5 separate regions of the Homo sapiens genome follow, and regions 1, 2, 3 and 4 are each linked to region 5. Evidence: promoter capture Hi-C in human tissues and cell types (Jung and others, 2019). All regions are on one chromosome and are shown on one strand. The core of a region is centred on a gene start or on the middle of the fragment in contact, and the rest is flanking DNA. Distances in the headings are between cores, read along the strand shown. Region 1 has its middle 16 kb from the start of TMEM174. Region 2 has its middle 18 kb from the start of TMEM174. Region 3 overlaps FCHO2 (FCH and mu domain containing endocytic adaptor 2). Region 4 overlaps FCHO2 (FCH and mu domain containing endocytic adaptor 2). Region 5 holds the start of FOXD1 (forkhead box D1).

What was found. Contacts are between HindIII fragments. The study calls those that stand out against the background at their distance.
Region 1: a fragment that was not itself captured here is called in contact with the fragment with the promoter of FOXD1 in region 5 in 1 of the 25 tissues and cell types used here (IMR-90 fibroblasts).
Region 2: a contact is called between a fragment that was not itself captured here and the fragment with the promoter of FOXD1 in region 5, in 1 of the 25 tissues and cell types used here (mesendoderm cells).
Region 3: a contact is called between a fragment that was not itself captured here and the fragment with the promoter of FOXD1 in region 5, in 1 of the 25 tissues and cell types used here (mesenchymal stem cells).
Region 4: a fragment that was not itself captured here is called in contact with the fragment with the promoter of FOXD1 in region 5 in 2 of the 25 tissues and cell types used here (IMR-90 fibroblasts and hippocampus).

The regions. Positions count from the first base shown.
Region 1 is chr5:73,155,996-73,158,810 of GRCh38, reverse strand. No RefSeq gene overlaps it. Among named protein-coding and RNA genes, the nearest start is that of TMEM174, 16 kb to the left of the region's middle. RefSeq lists an enhancer at 2,561-2,815. The HindIII fragment of the contact is 3,303 bases long and covers 1-2,815 here.
Region 2 is chr5:73,189,892-73,192,660 of GRCh38, reverse strand. No RefSeq gene overlaps it. Among named protein-coding and RNA genes, the nearest start is that of TMEM174, 18 kb to the right of the region's middle. The HindIII fragment of the contact is 4,970 bases long and covers 1-2,769 here.
Region 3 is chr5:73,004,540-73,007,239 of GRCh38, reverse strand. It overlaps FCHO2 (FCH and mu domain containing endocytic adaptor 2), which reads right to left. Exons shown (of 26, transcript NM_138782.3): 6 at 691-795. Among named protein-coding and RNA genes, the nearest start is that of FCHO2, 50 kb to the right of the region's middle. The HindIII fragment of the contact is 3,172 bases long and covers 1-2,700 here.
Region 4 is chr5:73,054,739-73,057,669 of GRCh38, reverse strand. It overlaps FCHO2 (FCH and mu domain containing endocytic adaptor 2), which reads right to left. Exons shown (of 26, transcript NM_138782.3): 16 at 1,563-1,605. Among named protein-coding and RNA genes, the nearest start is that of TMEM171, 64 kb to the left of the region's middle. The HindIII fragment of the contact is 6,677 bases long and covers 1-2,931 here.
Region 5 is chr5:73,447,468-73,450,198 of GRCh38, reverse strand. FOXD1 (forkhead box D1) reads left to right here and starts at 1,422. Exons shown (of 1, transcript NM_004472.3): 1 at 1,422-2,731. The coding sequence starts at 1,837. The HindIII fragment of the contact is 13,220 bases long and covers 1-2,731 here.

The DNA of each region.
Region 1 (2,815 bases), core at 247-2,746, 290 kb after region 5:
CCACCACCCTCCAGCCTGGGTGACAGAGTGAGACCCTATCTCAAAAAAACAAAACAAAACAGTAACAAGAATATTGTAGGTGGCGGTGGCGATCATTGCTGTATGGAGTATGGATTCTGTGTCTTTACACCGTATTCTTGCTTGAACTTTCTGATATCCTGGTGAGAAGCAAGGCCTCTGTTTTACAGATGATTAATCTCAGAACAGGAAAGTAGGCTATTTGATTTAGTGGTAGTGCAGGAGGACAATCTGTTTTCCTAAAGTGTTTTTAAAATTGCTCATCCATGAAGGGCAGGCACTGGCAGGCAAGTGATCTGCCTGTGTTCTCGAGCGAGGCTGGTGTCTGCTGAGGTTGGTTGGGTAGGCAGTTTCCTGGGTGTCCTGATAATCTTTAGATTTTTTTCCCCAGCTGCGATGATTTGAATGTTTGTCTCCTCCAAAACTCATGTTGAGCTTTGATCCCTACTGTTGGAAATTGGCCTGATGGGAAGTGTTTGGGTCATGAGGGGATCCCTGATGAATAGAATAATGCCCTTTTTTGGGGGTGACTTCTCACCCTATTAGTTCCCTGTAAAGCTGGTTGTTAAAAGAGCCTGGTGCCTCCCCACTGTTTTTCTTGCTTCCCCTCCTGCCATGTGATCTCTGCACACATGAGCTCCCCGTCTTCCATCATGAGTGAGAGCAGCCTGAGGCCCTCACCAGAGGCAGATGCCCAGTCATCAAAATTATAAGCCAAATAAACTTCTCTTTATAAATGACTCAGCCTCATGTATTCCTTTATAGCAGCAGAAAATGCACTCAGACACCAACTGAACTGAAAACTACCTTGATGGGGCTGGAATTTAAGTCACAGCCACTGCCATTTCCAGCAAATGATAAGGTGAGCCTCCCAGAGGCCCAGCTCTTGGTGTGAGAAGCTTCTGGATGGAGTAGGTCTGCAGTGGGCTTGCTTCTGAGCTCAGGAATTTATGTACTTGTATGTTAGTTTCCACTTCAGAATAACCACACACTTAGAGGCTTAAAACTACATTCATTTATTCGTTCACGGTTCTGTAGGTCAGGCATCCCTCTGTATTATCTGGAGGCTCAGGAAATAATCTGTTCCCAAGCTCATTCAGGCTGTTGGCCGAATTTGGTCCTAAGCAACATAAGACTGAGGTTCCAATTCCCTGCCAGAAATTCCTTTCTGCTCCTAGAAGCCCCCCACATTCCTTCTCACTTGGGCCGCTCCATCTTCAAAACAGCAATAGTGCTGCAAGACTAGCCAAGCTCTTGAGCTTCAAGTCTCTCTGATTTCCCCCTTTCTGCCCTACTCTTCTGCCACAACAGCCATGGAAAGTTATCCGGTTTTAAGGAGCCATGTGATTAAATTACACCCACCCAGATACTCCCTTTTTGTGGGTCCACTGTGCCGTATAACATAACACAATCATAGGAACGATGCCACATGTTCTCAGGCTTTGAGGAATAAAGATGTGGGATTTTTTTTTTTTTAGCGGGGAGCATTTTTAGAATTCTGCCTGCCACATTCTGTTTCTGTTGCTGAGACCCAAAGAGAGTTAGTAAAGGACGAATGAGTCTGCTAAGAGTGACCAGGGGACATGTTTGTCCAGGCCTCATCAACATTGCTAAGCACGTTCAAGTAACAACACTGCAGTGGGTCTTGCAGGCCTTCACATGTCCAATTTACTCTACTGCAGCGGTTCTCCAAGTGGGGGCCCAGAACCAGCAGCAGCAGCACCTGGGAACTTGTTAGAAATATATATTTTGGGCCCCACCTCGACCTACAGAATTAGAAACTCTGGAGATGGGGCCAGAGGTCTGTGTTTTAGCCAGTCCCTTGGGTGATTCTGATGCTTGCTCAGGTTTGAAAACTATTTCTCTAAGGTAGGTCCCCAGTTTCCTTTTCTATGGAAGTAAAAGTTGGGGAGGAGTCAGATAGGTAATCTCTAAAATGACTTCCATTTCTAACAACGTATGATTTGTGAATATTACAAAAAAGATTACACTGTAGAGACCAAAGAATGCACATATATGTCAATTGTGTGTGTGTGTGTGTGTGTGTGTGCGCGCGCTTCCATGCATGTCACGGTTAAGAGTACAGGCTTTGGAGTCTTTTCTACAATCAAATTCTGGCTTCTCCAATCACTAGCTATGTAAATGGGCCAGCTGCTTAGCCTCACTGAGCCTCAGTTTCCTCATTTATGAATGATGGGACCTACATCATAAGGTTATCAGGATCAAGTGAGATCATACAGAGAACACATAGCGTAGTAAGTTCAGTGACTTTCGGCTATAATTACTTCATCCTGTTCAGTTTCTGGAAACTTTCTCCTTGAGTGCTTGAGTCTATGGTGGGGGTAAAGCACCCAGGCCCTTGTCAGGAGGCCCTGAAGGCAGCCCCGGGAGGCACTGCCTGGGGACTGAGGATGAGCTGCTCCTAGGCCTGAAGGCAAAAGTGAACCTTCTCTGATTCCTAGAGTCAGCTTAAGTCCTGTCACTGCAAAGGAAGACATCTTGGTAAAGCGTGTGTATATAATCCCACAGCCACCATGATCTCCTCCTCAGAGATCATACAACCCGAGGCAGAAAGCACGCATCTCAACACCAAGTCGGCTGAGATGTGGAGAGCGGGGCTGGAAACCCTCAGGGGCATTTGCAGAGTTTTTATTATATTTGTTATTATTGGTTTTTGTGTTTCATTGTTGTTTTTGTTTGTTTTACATGTTCAAAGGAACAGAAATAGTTAAGGCCTGGAATAGAGTCAACATGTGCCTCTGTAAAGTTGAGGTAGGTCGGGAAGTGTGTCACCGGG
Region 2 (2,769 bases), core at 36-2,535, 260 kb after region 5:
GGAGATATAAACAGGACTGCCCATATCACGTGCTAATTATGTCCCAGGCATTATATCCTTTGATTCTCCCAATAAACCTATGCCATAAACAGTAGCATCAATTTCATTTCACAGATGTGGACATTGACACTTTACCGAGGGCAAGAACCTTGCCCAAGTGTATTAGTCCATTCTCCTACTGCTATGAAGAAATACTTGAGACTGAGTAATTTATAAAGAAAAGACGTTTAATTGACTCACAGTTCCACATGGCTGGGGAGGCCTCAGGAAACTTACAATCATGGCAGAAGGTGCCTTTTCACAGTGCAGTAGGAGAGAGAATGAGTGCCAGCAGGGGAAATGCCAGACGCTTATAAAACCATCAGATCTCATGAGAACTCACTCATTAGCTCTAGAACAGCATGGGAGAAACTGGCTCCATGATTCAATTACCTCCCACCAGGTTCCTCCCACAGCACGTGGGGATTATGGGGATTATAATTCAAGGTAAGATTTGGGTGGGGATGCAGCCAAACCCTATCATCAAGGCTATATATAGCACAGTGGTAGAGCAAAACTTTGAGCCCATTTTGACTCCGGAACTTATTTTCTTAATCACTATTCTAGGTCCTTAAAGAAAAGGACTGAACTGGAACCTTACAGTTCAAATATATCCTGCTAAAAGTATTAGTTATCTCCTGATCCATGAAACAAGCACACATCATGGCCCGGTGATAGAGAGCCTGTCAGATCAGGCTGTGGGGAACAGGAAGGAGACCAGGCTCGCCCTGCTGGTTTTCACTGGTGAAGGCAGTAAAATCGGAGATAGACCGGAGCCTGCAATAATACCACTGCCACCATTTATGGAGCGCCGTGCTAAACAGCAGCTGAGTCTCACAGCAACATTAAGAGGCTGGGACTATTAACCCCACTTGTCGGATCAAAGAGACAGAGGCATGACAATTTTCAGGGACGTGTTCACAGCCACTCAGCCAGTCAGGGGCCAAGTCTTTTGGCTACAGGAAATTGGCTGCTCTGCTCCTACTGCCTGTGGACCAGAGACCTGGTGACTGCACATGAGTGTTAGGCCACCCGAGGACCCAGACTGTGAACTCAGCCTGCATTCTGGCTCACCAGGACAGTTTCGGGAGCCCTCTTTGACTATTGCCTTTGACAAGGCTGAAGATGGGCTAAGACCAGAATCCTCAACCAAATTTAAAACTACTTAAGCTTGGAATATTCCGTTCTTTTCTGTGGCTGTAAGTCTCCCTCTCAGCACCCAGAGCCTTTCTCCTGACTGGTGGCTGCCTGCATGGTTTGCCAACGCAGCATCCACTCTGCATTTGTTCCACAAAGCGCTGCTAAGTGCCTCCTTTGTGCCTAACACTGGGCCTTTGGTGGAGATCAGACGGCCATTTGACCTGGGGCCCTACCTTGAGCAAGGATGAGGCCACATTGGAAATGCTGATTTTGCCCATAAACTCATGCTCCAAGTTGTTTCACAGTAATTAAAAATTCAGCAAAGGAAAAAAAATTCCCAGCAGACACCATAGGTGGGAAACCTCTGTGTAGAAGCTGGTGAAAAACCAATCCTCCAGTTCTAATGGCACCTGGATCTGAGAAAGAAAGGGACTTGGACTCCACAGACAGGGGGCAGAGACTTTATGAGTCATCCCGGTGAGGATAATGGGCATTGAAACACGGCTTTGCAAACTCTGAAGTGATGCATGAGTGTTTGTTGGTTGCTATTTTAATTACATAAAATACATATCTAAGACAATATCCAAGAAATGAAGATTAGGAACTAGAGCAGATTAACAGGAGAGAAATCTGGGATCATGTAAACTGTTCAGGAGCCCCAAATAATAGAATGTCTTATTTTTTTTTTTACCCAGTCTACAGGCAACCCTAGTCACAGGAGGCTGGTGTGAGGGCCACTTTCTAGATTTCCTTTTGACATGTCTTTTTTTTCCTAGAAGGCATCCCCATCTCCCTATTGTCCTCTGCTAACTCTTTGCATCTCCACCTCCACCTAGGACTATGAAATATGTCTTTGCAGGTCATACTCAGCACAGCTACAGGGAGTGCCATTCACATCAAAGTCTACATGAATGAGACCACTGGGCCTTAAACTCAGCTGCATGTTGGAAACATTTGGAGGAAATTTAAACATTATTGATGTCTTAGTCCCTCCTCCAGGTTGTCTGATGTAATTGTTCTGAGTTGCATCCTGGCTTGGGATTTTTTTAAATGCCCAAGTAATTCTAATATGCACCCACCATGTTTGAGAACCAGTAAATTAGACTATGCTGTGAATGGTGCCCACTGAGGATGTGTGGTAGATAGTCTGCATAGCCCTTCAGATGAGCCCCGCCCACCCCAGCTGGCCTGATGCAATCCCCAGTGACCTGAACTTGCTAATGGAACAGATCACAGACTAAATACATACCTCTCTGCCTTTTACGTTGTTTTCCCTTGGGTCGGGATTGGGGTTTGGGAAAGTGTAGGGACTGAACTGTGATCCTTTAAGGAATCCCTTACACTTTCTGCATCCTTCTGAGGAATGAAGGAGAGGCAAGGGTCTAATCCTGCTGAAAAACTGGGAATTTTTTCAAGGCCAGTTTTGGAGGCTGCCCAACTCTGGTGCTCTGCCCAGGGTGAGCATGCTGTTTTGATCGCCTGACTAAGAGAGTGATTTAGGCTTTTGGAAGAATCTGGCTCATTTCCCCCGGTACCTCAGCCATTCCCGGCTTGTAAATCAGCCACCTTTAGCAGCTGCATTTTACTTTC
Region 3 (2,700 bases), core at 195-2,694, 440 kb after region 5:
GAAAGTAATAAACCCTTGATATTGTAAGCCACTGAGATTTCTGGGGCCTTGTGTCACCACAGCATACTTACTCTGACCTGAATGATACAGGAATAAAATTCTTGGTATGTAAGATCACGATAGGTGCTAAGCAGGAAAATAAAACAAGGAAAAGGACAAGAAGCAGGGGCAGCGGAGAGTGGAAATGTTAGGTATGATTCCTAAAAGGCAGCCACCTTAAACGAGGCCTTTAATTAAGGTTCTAAGAACACTACACCAAATATAATTTATCCCAAGCTAATGGATGGCAGACATTTGTGTCTGTCTTCCCTCACTAATATGTAAGTTCTTTGAGACCAGGGATTTTTTGGGTTGTATTGACTGCCGTAGCCTCACTACTAAGTCACTTCCAGTTTTCTTATTAATGCTTCTTAAGCACTGTCTTCATCATGTACCAATGCCCTCAGTTTCCCCAATTACCTTTAAACAGGCTCTTCTGATCTACCTGTATAATTCCTTATGACATTATAATTATTGCATCTTGGTCCTCAATCTCCAAAACGCGACATGTATTTTTAAAACAGCATCATTAACAAATTGAGATTGTGCATTTTAAAACTTCCAACACTAAAAAATTATATGAGAGAAAAATTAATCAATATACACAAATATAAATGCCCTGTTTTCAATCTGAAGCCTTAAAATACCAACCTGAGCTGTTTCTGTCATTTTCTGTTCGAAATCAGCTTTTGCTAATGCATATTTTTCCACATAGAGTTTATAGGTATCTGTAGCTTTCTTAGATTTAACAGCTGCCTGTAATAAAATAAAATAAAAAACTTTTAACTGTGCATTGACCTTTTTTCTTTCCTAATGTAAGTTAATATGAATAACAAATTAAAATACATTTTAAGAGTTCAATATGACATATAACTAACTTTGATACTTGTTGTGAGGCCCTCTTTAGTCTTTTTTTATTGTTGTTGTTACAGTCAGCCAAGAAGTCAGGAAGTAAACACTGATTCTCTTTTCTGTTTGATGGAATGTGCTTTGAAAAGTTAAAATACTCTCATTTTAAATCCCAGACTAAGATTGCATAATTACATTATAATGCTACAGTGTTACTAAGATATGTTAACACACTGTTGGAGAGAAACTTCCAGACAATATACAAAAATGTCACAATACCACCAGAACGTGCTTGACACTCCTTTTCGCAGCTGTGAATTTTCCTCCACCACAGCATACATATATTTCATTCAATGTCTGATTAAACCTATCTATAAACTATAAACCTATCTCGAAAGTTGTGAAGGCTGGTTTCCTTGATGTTTCTCAGCTTCCATTATGCTCCAGCAAATACAGAAACTTGTTTTCAATCTTTGCCTATTTTTTCAAGACTTAAAAAACGAAACTGTTACCATAATAGTATAGTTCTGGTTTTATAAGTTACTTATTTAATTAAAAAAACATATTAAGCAGTACTGTACAACCTATACATAAACAGAAATTGCAATAAAGTAACACAGCCACAGAAGTTAAGGTAAATTATAAGAAGATAGGCATTTGAGAAAGGAAAAGATTATGTGTAGTTTGTAGGTTGAAGCAGATACACAGCTATCAAGAAGCTTGATATTCTCAAAGGCCTGATCAACTTGGATACAGGAAGATGGAGTGATGTGGTTGGACTAAAAAAGAGTTTAAAGGAGATCAAAGAAAGACAAGCTATAGGATTTCAAGATATAAAAATCCCCATTTTCTTGACGAGGTAACAGATGGGTCTGGTATGAGTGAGAAACAGTAGGGTAGGTTGGGAGCTTAAGGAGAACAAAAAAAGTTTCAAACCATAATTGTGGAGGATGCAAGAGCTCATGACTAGATGAATAAAAGTGTTGCTAAGTGCCACTGAAGTCCAAGGAAAGCTGTAAAATACTTAATTTGTTTAAAGCCGATCAGTACCAATATGTAATTATCTTTAGCCATGATCAGGAATCTAAAAACAAAAAACTACAAAGAGAAAACTGGGTTTACCCTGAGGTTTGGGTTTGGTAAGAGGTACATATAGTCCTACTCCCTAAACAAGCAACTTTGTACTCTCTCTAAAATGTAATTGTTTATACTATATTAAGTATATATGTTATGTACTTTCCTGCCTTCTTAAAGAATATAGGATGCCACTTTACCATGAAACATAAACAAAGCTGATTTTGGAGCCAGAAGAAATTCAACTGAAATTCTGGCTCTACCGTTTACACTACTGCCCCTTTATCCATGGGGAATACATTCTAAGATCCCAGTAGATGTCTGAAGCCATGGATGGTACAGACTCTGTATTATATACTATGTTTTTTCCTATACATACATAACTATGATAAAGTTTAATTTATAAATTAGGCACAGTAAGAGATTAACAACTAATAAAATATAACAATTATAACAACATACTGTAATAACATCATATGTGAATACGGTCTCTCTCTCTCTAAATATTCTACTGTACTGGACAGTAGGTAACTGAAACCAAGGAAAGTGAAATCTCAGCACTGCACTACCCATCTGACCTTGTCTTAGAAATTTATACAGTTCTCTCATTACTAAAAAGGGAACAATATCACCTTTTTTTTAAAAAAAGCTGTAGTAGTAATGTAGTTATACAAAATGCTTGGAATAGGGTCTGGCATACAGTTAAATTTAAAAATAAATAGTGCCTGCTTTTATTAT
Region 4 (2,931 bases), core at 255-2,754, 390 kb after region 5:
TGGGTTAAAATTTTATAAGGCCATACTTATTTTCAAAGATGAAGAAAAAGGGTAAAGTGATTTTTTTAAGCCCTTAAGTACAGAAAGGTGGCTTACATATTTTAATGCATCAAACTGCCATTATTTTAAAAAATTTTAGGAAATCTTACACACACAAAAAAACAGGCCCTCTATAATGAAAGTGCTGTAATTACATAAGAGTACATATCCAGCATCTCAACATGCACCTACATGAAAGCACACTATACCTCGTATGATAAAGCCTAGCATTGCAACTGTATGACTCCTAAAAACAGTTTTAAAACACTCAACAACTTATCTTTAAAAAAATGATACATCCAATAAATACCACCACTATGCTCAATTAGTACCTCAAAAGTATCAAATAATTGTAAACTACCTATTTAACTAAGCCTACTTTTACTTGTATTTTACATTAACTCTGGCCAGGCTTGATGGCTCATGCCTGTAATCACAGTACTTTGAGAGGCTCAGGAGTCTGAGTCCAGGAGTTCGAGACCAGCCTGGGAAATATAGCAAGACCCAGTATCTACCAAAAAAAAAAAATTTTGAAAAAAATTAGCTGGGAGACAGGGGCGGGAGGATCATTTGAGCCTGGGACGTTGAGGCTGCAGAGAGCCATGATCACGCCACTGCACTCCAGCCTGAGAGACAGAGTAAGACCCTGTCTCAAAACAGACAAGCAAAAAACCATTAACTCAAAGAGAGTATTCTTAACTGATAGACACAGAAGTAAAAAGAGACCCATGAAACATTGGCTTAACATTTTTTTTTTTAAGAAGAGCTGGCAACATGCCTTCTAGCCTCTCTCTCCCTTTCCAACTTGACACACTTCTTTTTTTGAAGCTTACGAAGTATATTATTTTATAACGTCACAGTCAAAACTGAAGGAAGAAATGAGAAAATTCCCATGAGAATAACCAGCTGAAATACAGATATGTATGAATTTAGGGTTTCATCATTTATTTAGAAGTAGTGAGGCTACCAAGGCCAACTGTGGTTAAATAGATTTTTTTTATTGTAAAAGGACATATTACCAAGCGAGAAATAATTTTAAACTTCTAAAAACTCCAACATTGCATTTGACAGCTCAGAAAACAGGATGATTAACAGAACTTTACTGGAATTAAAACTATAGAGCTAATAAAACTCTAGAAAAAAAGACAAAAGGATACTTAAAATGTAAGTGTGTGGAAGAAGGGATGAGAAGGTGGAGCACAGAAGATTTTCAGGGCAGCAAAAATACTCTGTATGATACTATAATGACGAATACATGTCCTTACACATTTGTCCAACACCAAGAATGAACCCTAATGTAAACTGTGGACTTTAGGTGATTATGATGTGTCAATGCAGGTTCACTGATTCTAACAAATGTACCACTCTGGTGAGAGAATTTGACTGTGAGAGAGACTGGGCATATGAAGGGGCAGGGAGCATAAAGGGAAATCTCTGTGCTTTCCATTCAATTTTGCCATAAATCAAACACTGCTCTAAAAAATAAAGTCTATTTTTTAACAAAATTAAACATGGAAACTTACTCATTGGGTGGAGCAGATGGCTTTGATTTTGTTAACTCCTCATCTAATTAAAAAATTAAAATATGAAAACTTCATAATCTGAGAAATAAAATATTTTAATGAAAAACAGAAACTCTATACACATATCTCAACACTATAACAATTAAAAATTTTGGAATTGATAATGTAAATACAAACAATATTTTAACAAGTTTTCTATTGTGTACATTAAAATAACTGAAATTACAAAACCCTGGTTCCTTCTAATATCTTTAGTAAGAAATGACTTAAGTCAATTAAACTATGATATTCATTAAAATTGCTGTTTAGAAAAGAGAAACTATGGGTTGCAACTTTAAAAATTAGAAAAATGTTTAAATACATAAATTCTAGTTAAGAATTTTAACTGATGAATCATGAATGCATTTTTCAAGTTCTAAGAATATTATTAGTGATTATTGTATTGACAAAAAGTAGTTATTAACTCTTGAGGATGTCATATTTTGAAAAATTAAGAATCTTACAGCAACCTGGAGCAAGTCTCTTTATAAGATAGTTTGTTTTGCTACCTTTTGGATTTGTAATGTGCCTCATTTCACAAGCAAGTGGTAAACAGGGGAATAGCATCATTAATGAAAAACTCATGTTGGTGCATAAGCAATTTTTGCTGCACCTTCATGTTTTCTTTGCATCACCAAGCAATACCTGATGAATGCAAAGTACATCAATATGAGTAACTTCCACAAACTATGGAGGAGTATCACAGTACATGATAACCATTCACTCTACATTCTTCACTTGGCTCAGTTTGGTTGGTTGTTTTGCCTCAGTGTTTATTGTGCTATTCTTCAATATTTCTGCATTTTGCTCTCATCTCCACAACTCAGCACCCTGCATTTATCCTCATTTTCCTCACACCCCCTATCATTAAGCTACAATCAACATTTCTTTAAAGATAAAATCCTTACTTTTATTTTGGTATTTATTATTCATTTACTAGGTCTCTTAAACTCTGTTAGAATTTTTAATAAAACTGATGTTAAAGTTTCTGTTAAGTCTTCTGTTAACAAAATTACATAGCTTTTGAGTGGGCTGCTTCAACTGTTTTTCCCACAACCCTTGTTATTTTTAATGCATGATTCTGCAAAAGGTATTAGCACCTTAGAAAAGTTTTTAGTATAATTTTTAGTATAATTAAATTATAATAGAATTTGTAATTGTGACACAACTTAAAAATAGGTAAAATTCAATATTACTCATCTTATAAACGCTTTCTGGTTAATAAGACAGAGAATGCCAGTGAAACCGTTTAACATTCTGAATCAGAAGTTACTTTTTGGCTTTGGTGATTTCTGAAAAATGTTGTAGCCATGTATTGAAGTTTAAAGCA
Region 5 (2,731 bases), core at 173-2,672:
CCCCTCTTTGAAATAGAAGCATTTTAGGAAATGCACAAATAAGTGAATGTGAATTCAACAAACTATTAGGATTTTTCCACTAGCCAAAATAGCTCGTTTGAGTTGGTGATAAAGATAGGTATATTTAAAAGAGCATCATATCTTAATTATTTCCACTATCTTGTCACCCGAAAAGAAAACTGAATTGAGCGGAACTTTAATCTCATAAAAAAAATTTTCATCTCACCAGAAAGGATTAACAATATTTAAGGATTTTCCAAAAACACATTTTTAAAAAGTTTATCTTAAAGTCATCTATCATTATAGTTTCTATTAATAAGCCTCAGTAGAAATATGTATATGTTATGTAATTTAAGTATTTTGAGATTACTATGCAAAGTGCTGACTAGAATGTTCCTCCTACTGAGAACTATATAGCCCCATTATGAACGAACTTCTGTTTTTTTTTTTTTTTTTTGAGGCGGAGTTTCGCTCTTGTTGCCCAGGCTGGAGTGCAGTGGCACGATCTCGGCTCACTGCAACCTCCGCATCCCGGGTCCAAGCGATTCTCCTGCCTCGGCCTCCCGAGTAGCTGGGATTACAGGCGCCGCCTACTAATTTTTTTCTATTTTTAGTAGAGACGGGGTTTCACCATGTTGGCCAGGCTGGTCGAACTTTTTAGTAGTTTCTAGGTGCAATTTTTGTGCGTGTATTTGGGTTTTCACTAAAAATTTCAATTTCTTCTCCGAATTCAATTATTACGTTCTTTATTCCCATGACATTTGTCAGATCGTCTCATTAGAGTGGCTTAGTTTAACTGTCAAGTCTCTAGGGCATTCAATCGCAGAGAAGTGAGTAAAACGCCAGTCTCACAGCGTTTTTATTAACAGATGGCGGAAAACAAACGTCTTTGGAGTAAAACCGAAGAGAATGGGTTAAAGGGTCAATAAACAATTATTATCGTGCTTAAATTGGGGGGCTTCGCATCAGATCCAATGGGGGGCCGCTCGCCCGATCTGGAGGGGCTGGACACCCCCAACCGACCCCAGAGCGTCCCCCAGGGGCCACCTCAGAGGATGGGGTGGTTATCCCCCGGCTGGAAGGCTCCTACAGGCTGTCGAGGGGTCAAACCAGAGTGTCGCGGGTGTGCTTCTGAGGTTAGGGTGGAGGACTAATTGAGGAGGCTGGGAAGTCTAACTCGTGCAGCGGCCCTCGGTGCAGACAGCCGCGTAATTCGGGCATCAGCCTCTTTGGCAAGAAATAGTGAGGTCCCCTCTCCTCCCCACTCTTCTCAGCTGCTGCCTCCCTCCTACGGGTGAATTTTCTCTCCCGAGAAGGGCTGATTTCCTAGGCTTGCTTTCCTTCCCTCGGCAGCGCTCTGACGTGCACACCATGTGACAGGCCCCCTTCTGCTATAAGCCGAGGAAGGTCCGCCCTCTCCTGGACTCAGCCCTGGCCTCGCCGAGCTCTGTTCTTAGACTCTCACCCGTCCCGCACGTTCCTGGGCGCCTGGCGTTCTGATTCGCCCGCCCGGGCCCCGCCACCCCCTCCTCAGCTGACGGGGCAAAAGCTGCTCCGAGAGGAGAAGGTCAAGTCCTCCGCCCGGGCCGGGCGCGAGCGGAGCCCAGGGAGCGCAGCATCCGCGCGGCTACCGCGGCGGCGCAGGAGTTATAAAGTCGGCGCGCGAGACTCCGCCGCCACCCGGCAGCCCCGGCGCAGCTCCGGCAGCCGCAGTCGCAGCGCCCCCAGCGTGGCGCCCCCCGGCCGGGCCTGCCGCCCGGGACCCGGGCTGGGGCGCAGAGGGAGCCCGGAGCCCGGCGCCCCCATGCGCCGCCCCGCCGCCGCCGCGCCACAGCTATGACCCTGAGCACTGAGATGTCCGATGCCTCTGGCCTCGCCGAGGAAACAGACATCGACGTGGTGGGGGAGGGCGAGGACGAAGAAGACGAGGAAGAGGAGGACGACGACGAGGGCGGCGGTGGCGGGCCCCGGCTGGCTGTCCCCGCGCAGCGGCGGCGGCGGCGGCGCTCGTACGCCGGGGAGGACGAGCTGGAGGATCTGGAGGAGGAGGAGGACGACGATGACATCCTGCTGGCCCCGCCTGCTGGGGGCTCCCCGGCGCCCCCGGGCCCGGCCCCGGCGGCGGGGGCAGGAGCCGGTGGGGGCGGCGGCGGCGGCGGCGCGGGCGGCGGCGGGAGCGCGGGTAGCGGCGCCAAGAACCCGCTGGTGAAGCCGCCCTACTCGTATATCGCGCTCATCACTATGGCCATCCTGCAGAGCCCCAAGAAGCGGCTGACGCTGAGCGAGATCTGTGAGTTCATCAGCGGCCGCTTCCCCTACTACCGGGAGAAGTTCCCCGCCTGGCAGAACAGCATCCGCCACAACCTCTCGCTCAACGACTGCTTCGTCAAGATCCCCCGCGAGCCCGGCAACCCGGGCAAGGGCAACTACTGGACGCTGGACCCGGAGTCCGCCGACATGTTCGACAACGGCAGCTTCCTGCGCCGGAGGAAGCGCTTCAAGCGGCAGCCGCTGCTCCCACCCAACGCCGCGGCCGCCGAGTCTCTGCTGCTGCGCGGCGCGGGAGCCGCAGGGGGCGCGGGCGACCCGGCAGCCGCCGCCGCGCTCTTCCCGCCCGCGCCCCCGCCGCCCCCGCATGCCTACGGCTACGGCCCCTACGGCTGCGGCTACGGCCTGCAGCTGCCGCCTTACGCGCCGCCCTCGGCCCTCTTCGCCGCCGCAGCGGCCGCCG